Linked DNA regions of Homo sapiens: region 2 is linked to region 1. The links are contacts of gene promoters, found by promoter capture Hi-C in blood cells and fetal thymus (Javierre and others, 2016). All regions are on one chromosome and are shown on one strand. Each heading gives the region's core, a stretch centred on a gene start or on the middle of the fragment in contact. The rest is flanking DNA. Distances are from core to core; before and after follow the strand shown. Region 1 holds the start of MAP6D1 (MAP6 domain containing 1). Region 2 holds the start of KLHL6-AS1 (KLHL6 antisense RNA 1).

Region 1 (3,820 bases), core at 431-2,930:
AGTTCTCAAACTCCTGGGCTCAAGCAGTCCTCTTGCCTCAGCCTCCCAAAGTGCTGGGATTCCACGCATGAGCCATCTGCACCCGGCCATATGAAAAGCTAAAATTCCTTAGTGTGGCCACCAAGACCCTCCATGGTCTGCTACCTCAGCTGAACCCTCCTCCCCCGTGACCTACATTCCCACCTGGCCCAACCACCCTCCCTCACAACAGGTGGCGAGTCCAGCTTTCCCCAGCCTGCCTCCCTCTCATGCTGACCTGGCCTTGTCAGTTCAATTACACTTCCTTCCGTCCCTCACTACCACACTAAACCTCCTGAAGGCACCCAGAATTATTCCTAGCACATAGCAACTGCTCTTTGACTGTTGTTTGATCAATGAAGTAATAAAAAGAGAGCTGCTCTCTTTTCCTGCGAGATGGAGAATTTTAGTCCCAAGCGCCATCTGCCAGGCTGGCTAACCCAGGGCCGTGGCGGACAGTCCACAAAGAGTTCACTCTGACCCGGCCCCTGTGTGTCATTTTCCAGGATCTCCCTCTACACCTGGCGCCTCGCCTGCTGCCTGCTGGGACATGGCCTGGCCTGCTCAGCTGACCTGCTGCCACTTCTAGGCAGCCGTCATGTCACTTTGCTACAACTTCAAGCTAAGACAGGCAATGTTTTGGGAGATGAATCTGTTTTCTGACTGGCCAGGGATGTGCTGCAGTCCCCTCCCAGGCGCAGACTGGATACCTTCCAAGTACAACCTTGAAATGGAGCTCTGGGTAATTAATGCTGTCTCAGTAGTGTTATTAGTAATTGGTCTGCAGTGTATACCGAGAGCATGTGTCAAATATTCAGAAAAGCGTTTGTGGGTGGTCAGGGAGTTGTTTGAGACGGTGTCCTGCATTGAACAGACCTGCCTTTACGCTGGAGGATCCCTCAACAGCTCTGCCTGAAAACAGCCATGCATGCACAGGAGGAAAGGAACTTGATAGCCTTGTGGCCAGTTCTGTGGCCGCTTTATCAAACTAAAGCTTTTGCAAATGGCCATGCTTTAAAATTAGGAATTTCAGAACCCAGGGAAAGGTCGATTGGTGGCTAATGCCAATTCTAATGAAAAGTGGATTGGTTGTCACAAATGTAGACTAGCATCCTAAAGGCAAATAGGCGGCGACTCACAGGCTGACTGAAACACGTGTTCTCCGGGAAGCAGGGCCCCGAGTCTTCTCTGACACCCTCATTGCTGCACCTGCCCCTGTGCCCGCGGAGTCCATGCGGTGCAGCCTGGCACAAATGCAGCAGTCGCTGGGCGTCCCGAGGCCACATGGAGAACCTCCCGGCTGGCGGACTGCTCCCAGCTGCGACCATCGGGCCCTTGGCCTCTGCGAAGCCGGGGCCATTTATAAGATGACACTGAGGGAACTTTGGATTCAATTCTGAGGCATTCTTCGAGATGGACACTTGTAAATGAATGCAGGCGGTTTCCGGTGCCCCCTGGCGACGGTGCAGCCTTTCCCCCATCCGCGCTCCCTCCAGCTCCAGCCGTGCGCAGCCGGCCCCGGCCAAGTGGGGCTGCCGCCGAGTGCGCCCCCTCCCGGGACGCCCACCCTCGTGCCGGGGGGCGGTGCTGCGGCGGCGCGGGGCGGGCCGCGGGGGCGGGGACGCTGGGCGCAGGAGGCGCGGCCGGGAGCGCCGCGCGCCGGGAGCGGGGCGGCGGGCGCCGGGGCTGGCATGGCGTGGCCCTGTATCAGCCGCCTGTGCTGCCTGGCGCGGCGCTGGAACCAGCTGGACCGCTCCGACGTGGCGGTGCCGCTCACTCTGCACGGCTACTCGGACCTCGACAGCGAGGAGCCGGGCACGGGCGGCGCCGCCTCGCGCAGGGGCCAGCCTCCCGCGGGCGCCCGGGATTCCGGCCGGGACGTGCCGCTCACTCAGTACCAGCGGGACTTCGGCTTGTGGACCACGCCCGCCGGGCCCAAGGATCCGCCGCCGGGGCGCGGACCGGGGGCGGGCGGCCGCAGGGGCAAATCCTCCGCGCAGTCCTCCGCGCCACCTGCGCCCGGCGCCCGCGGGGTCTACGTGCTGCCCATCGGCGACGCGGACGCGGCTGCAGCAGTGACCACGTCGTACAGGTATGGGCTGGGTAGGGACCGCAACGAGTCCCCACCCTGTGGTGGGAGGACGCGGAGGCCCGGAGCCAGAGGGATGGGGTGGGCGGCAGAGCGGAGGCGCCTGGAGCCCGGATCCCACGCGACCTCGGAGCTGCCGGCGGCCTCAGAGGTCACCCCCGTTTGGTCCGTGGGCACTGCAGGCGGCGCCTTCGCTGCTCCATGCCCGGACTCAGTGCTCGAGCACCCCCGTGCCGGGAGCGCACCGCTGCCCTCGCAGCCGCCCTCCTGGGGGCAGCCGTCAGAATGGCCTGCCTTCAGCCGAGTTGGAACCGGCCTCCCTTTAACTCCCACCGCCGGGCCTAGCCGTGCGAGGGGTGCGCGCAGGCCATGTCCCCCAGCTCTCTCCGGTCACTGCCTAGTGTGCGGGCGTTGGTGGTGAGGACCGAGCGCAGGGTCCCGTGTGGGTGAGCCCTTCAGAGTCCCACTGTGACAGGGGCTTTCAGGGAGAACGGGTCCGCGGGCCCTCCCCACCTCCCAGCCCAGCTCTGCTCCTGGACAGCCGAGGGCTTTCTCCCTTTTTTCCTCTTACCACAAAAGTAATTCATACTGTAGAAAAATGGGAAAGTACAGAAATTACAACAAAATACGTATCTCCTTGATCCCTCCCCAGACGAGTTCTTTCTACTCCGTAATGTGCATTTGGTGCATATGCACTGATATATTTTTACGTGGTTAGATTCTTACTGTACACTTTTTTCACCAGTTGTAGAAGTCTGTCCGTGTTACTACATGTTCTGCAACATGAATTTTAATAAACGTGCAGTATTTTATCCTATGGATATGCCTTTATATCTTCAAGTTTTATTTATCTACTTCCTTACCATTGACTATTTAGGGTGTTTCTAATGTGGGACTATTAAAAGCACTACTTTTCCTTTGATGCAGCTATTTCACTACTAGGAATTTTCCCTACAGGTATCCTACAAGGTAGGGTGGGAGCTCAGGAGCGTAAGATAGGTGGAGACATTGTACAACAAACCCCTTGTCCTGCTGATGTAGGGAACTGGTTAATTATAGCACAGCCATGAAATGGGATACTGAAACCCAGCGGATCTTAAATATACGCATACCAAAAAAGCAAGGTGCCCAGCAGCACGTAGGCTATTTGTGTTTTAAAAAGGGGTATTAATATACACACATATGCTCAAATAAGCACAGGATGCCCTGATGGATGTCTGAGGAGATGGTACCGTTAGGGAGAGGAACTTGATAGGGACTGCCAGGGGTGGAAGGCTTTTCACTCTGCTCTTTTGAACGATTGCTTTTTTTGCCTTTGTAACATGTCCATGTATTGCCTATCTTTTTAACTTTTTTTTTTGGAGACGGAGTCTCGCTCTGTCACCCAGGCTGGAGTGCAGTGGTGCAATCTCGGCTCACTGCAATGTCTGCCTCCCTGGTTCCAGCAATTCTCCTGCCTCAGCCTCCCGAGTAGCTGGGATTACAGGCTTGTGCCACCATGCCCAGTTAATTTTTATTTTTATTTTTATTTTTGATTTTTTTCTTTTTTGAGACAGAGTCTCGCTCTGTCGCTCAGGCTGGAGAGCAGTGGCGCCATCTTGGCTCACTGTAACCTCCGCCTCCTAGGTTCAAGCAATTCTTCTGCCTCAGCTTCCTGAGTAGCTGGGATTATAGGTGTGTGCCATCACGCCCAGCTAATTTTTTGTATTTTTA
Region 2 (3,820 bases), core at 850-3,349, 280 kb after region 1:
GAAGTAAATTTTTAAGGCCTCGCATATATTTTTGTTTTGTTTTGAGACAGGGTCTTGGTCTGTTGCCCAGGCTGGAGTGCAGCAGCTTGATCATGGCTCACTGCAGCCTCCCTGGGCTCAAGCAATTCTTCCACCTCAGCCCCCCAAGTAGCTGGGACCACAGGATGTACCACCATGCCCGGCTAATTTTTGTATTTTTTTAGTAGAGATAGGGTTTCACCATGTTGGCCAGGCTGGTCTGGAACTCCTGACCTCAGGTGATCCACCCACCTCCGCCTCCCAAATTGCTGGGATTACAGCTGTGAGCCACCCACCACGCCTGGCCTTTCTTTGATTTTAAATAACATTTTGATATTTCACAATGATGTGCCTTGGAGGGGTGTGTGTGTGCGTGCGTGTGTGTGTGTGTATGTGTGTTTTACTCCAACCATTATGCTATGCATTTGATGAACCCTTTTAATCTGGAGAGTCACATCCTTTAATCCTGAACATTTCCTCATATTACTGCCTGGTAATTACATGGTTACTGTTTTCCTTGTTTACTATTTCTGGATCACTTATTCAGTAGATGTGGACTTCTAGAACAGTCTCTAGCTTTCTCATCTTCTCTCTCCTGTTGTCCATCCTCTTATCTTTCTGTTTTACTTTCTGGAAGATTTTTCTCAATTTTATCTTCCAACCTGTTGAGAATCTCAGTTTTTAACTTCCAAGACTTTTTTCTTGTTTTATGTATGAAGCTTCCTTTTTATAACATCCTGTTCTTGTTTTGTATAGGTCATATTTTCACTTAATCTCTTTGAGGTTTATATTTTTTAAAAAACCACTCTTCTGTTTTTGTTTGTTTTTTACTGTTTGTTTTCACTGTATTTTTCTCTTTGTTTTTGTCTCTTTTATTCTATTTTATGTATGTATTTATTTATTTCCTAGAGACAAGGTCTCCCTATGTTGCCCAGATAGTTTCAAACTCCTGGGCTCAAGGGATCCTCCTGACCCGGCCTCCCAAAGTGCTAGGATTACAAGCATGAGCCACCACACCTGGCCTCTGTCTTTTATTTTAGAGGCTATACTTAAATATCTGGTAGTCTTTGGATATCTGTTCCTATTTAAGAGTCAAGCACTAACATGGTGAAACCCCATCTCTACTAAAAATACAAAAAATTAGCTGGGCGTGGTGGCACATGCCTGTAGTCCCAGCTACTCGGGAGGCTGAAGCAGGAGAATTGCTTGAATCTGGGAGGCGGAGGTTGCAGTGAGCCAAGATCATGCCACTGCACTCCAGCCGGGGCAACAGAGCAAGACTCAGGTGTCCCGACCTGACGAGTGCCATTCAAGTTGGATTTAGCCATGAAATAAGTTACAAAAAACTTTACATTTATCAGCACTTTGGGAATTTTGAAACTACAGATAAGGGATTATAGATATATAATGCTGAAATATTTACTATCATATTGGTTCTGATCCACAATATTGGAAAATATTAAAAGTGGAAAATATAGGGCCTGACCCTGGTGTTACAATCATTGGCTTCACTTGAGTTCTCAAGTGTACCCACTGTGGCAGCAGCAATCCTCAACACATTTGCTGTTAGCCAGATTTTTAATACAGACCTACATGGCCTTAACTCATTCTTGTTTTTCTTGGCACTTATTCTCTTTTTTAAAATTTGTTTAAATTTTACTTTAAGTTCTGGGATACATGTGCAGAATGCGCGGGTTTGTTACATAGGTATACACGTGCCATGGTGGTTTGCTGCACCTATCAACCCATCATCTAGGTTTTAGGCCCTGAATGCATTAAGTATTTTTCCTAATGCTCTCCCTCCCCTTGTCCCCCACCCGCCGACAGGCCACGGGTTGTGTTGTTCCCCTACCTGTGTCCATGTGTTCTCATTGTTCAACTCCCACTTATGAGTGAGAACATGCGGTGTTTGGTTTTCTGTTGCTGTGTTAGTTTGCTGAGAATGATGGTTTCCAGCTTCATCCATGTCCCTGCAAAGGACATGAACTCATTCCTTTTTATGGCTGCACAGTATTCCATGGTGTATATGTTCTTGGCACTTATTCTATCACCTGGGCTTTCTGACTCTTTTCTGACATCTTACCCCATTATGGAGACAAAGCTCAGGATTACAACATCTACATGTGGCTTAAGAGTAGTCTCTTGCCCCACTTTTCTGCCATGCAGTAATTGGTTAATATGTAATAATGATTAACAAGTGCATAGATTGTGCTCACAATAACCTTCCCATTCCTGGCCTTATGCCTGATTTTTGTAGCTGGCGGGTAAAGTCCTCTCAACATAGCCTCAAGGAACCAGACCTAGAGACTGCGGTACAAGACAGGAGTGAGACAGGAATCCAGACAAGGATTCCAGGCAGCAGCATCAACAAAGGAGATTGCTAATGACTCAGCCTCAGCCTGGAAGCTTTTCTATGCATGAAGGAAGGGCCAGTCATGAGACAGGGCAGAGAAAAGCCTGATAACCCCTCCCCTCATCACTAGGACTCCCCTCCCTCTGCCAACCCTGGGAATCACAGCAGGGCTGCCCTCACAGGTCACTGTCACTTACAGAGTGTGCCATATTTTGCAGTGAGCTGGGCTTCCCAAATGGTGAGAACCAGTTTCTGGTTCTAGCCACAGTGAGGTCCCATATATTTTCAGAGCGCACTGTCTTTTCACCTTGCACACCCTGACCCTGCTTCCTTGTCTCTTTTTTAACCCTTTGATCCAGACTGATGTCCTAAGGCATGCTGGGTCCTTGCTGCTATGGGGGTCTGTCAGCTCAGCCCCCAGACATAAACTGGAATGAATGTTCCAACAGTATCCTGCCTGTGCATGTGTGTATGAGCACAAGGAGGCTCTGATTTTTACATTTCCTCCTCATTTTCAGCTTATGTAGCCTACACTAGCAAAAGAGTCTTGGGGAGCTGAGGGGTCATAGGAAATGACCTGTTAGCCACATTTCTGTTCTCTGTGAAGAGGCCTGTTTTCAGTTTAGACATCATGGGGAAACCACTCTTCCCATCAAAGTGAGCTCCCCCAAGGATGAAATGGACACCATGCTATCTACTTGATATTATGAAGACTGAATGAAATAAAAAGAATCCAGCAAAGTGCCTGAAAAAATGTAGGCCGTCCATATTCCAAACTGGGAAAAAATGCTTAATGCAAAGATTACCACGTCACGTATAAAAACAAAATACTGGAAGCAACCTAAATGTCCACAGTGAGAGAATGATTTTCATATTATGCCTCTGTTGAAATTGGTAGCAATATAATAAATAGTCATTATGAAAAGCATGGAGCACCGTAGGAAAAATATTATAATGAAAACAGGGGGCAAAGCAAGATGCAAAATTGCATGTAAACTATGGAAAGATATGCATGTGAGAAAAGGTAGACAAATAACACCAAAATGAAAACTGTTAACATTATCAGAAAGCCCCATAATCCCTTACCCAAAAATCTGGGAGCCAGATGTGCTTTGCCATTCAGAATTCTTTGGATATTAGCATATCTTAAATGTTATATAGCACCTCCAGCGCTCTTTAGTCTAATGCATTAGTACTTCAGCAGTGAGTATACAAATAGTTGTCCTAAGTGGAATAAATAAAGACTCTGAGGTCGGGTGCAGTGGCTTACTCCTGTAATCCCAGCACTTTGGGAGGCTGAAGCTGGTGGATCACCTGAGGTCAAGAGTTCAAGACCAGCCTGGCCAACATGGTGAAACACCGTCTCTACTAAAAAATATAAAAATTAGCCAGGCACGGTGGCGTGTGCCTGTAGTCCCAGCTACTCAGGAGGCTGAGGCCGGAGAATCG

The links. Contacts are between HindIII fragments. The CHiCAGO score rates a contact against its expected background, and 5 or more counts as called.
Region 2: the fragment with the promoter of KLHL6-AS1 here is called in contact with the fragment with the promoter of MAP6D1 in region 1 in 8 of 17 cell types (erythroblasts, megakaryocytes, neutrophils and 5 more); the score reaches 13.5 in erythroblasts.

Annotation. Positions count from the first base shown.
Region 1 is chr3:183,823,437-183,827,256 of GRCh38, reverse strand. MAP6D1 (MAP6 domain containing 1) reads left to right here and starts at 1,680. Exons shown (of 3, transcript NM_024871.4): 1 at 1,680-2,110. The coding sequence starts at 1,710. It also overlaps a transcript of PARL not described here. RefSeq lists silencers at 1,473-1,822, 1,883-1,952, 1,973-2,102. The HindIII fragment of the contact is 2,997 bases long and covers 1,015-3,820 here.
Region 2 is chr3:183,547,014-183,550,833 of GRCh38, reverse strand. KLHL6-AS1 (KLHL6 antisense RNA 1) reads right to left here and starts at 2,099. Exons shown (of 2, transcript NR_046687.1): 1 at 1,871-2,099. The region is part of intron 1 of KLHL6 (kelch like family member 6); the gene reads left to right. The HindIII fragment of the contact is 1,687 bases long and covers 740-2,426 here.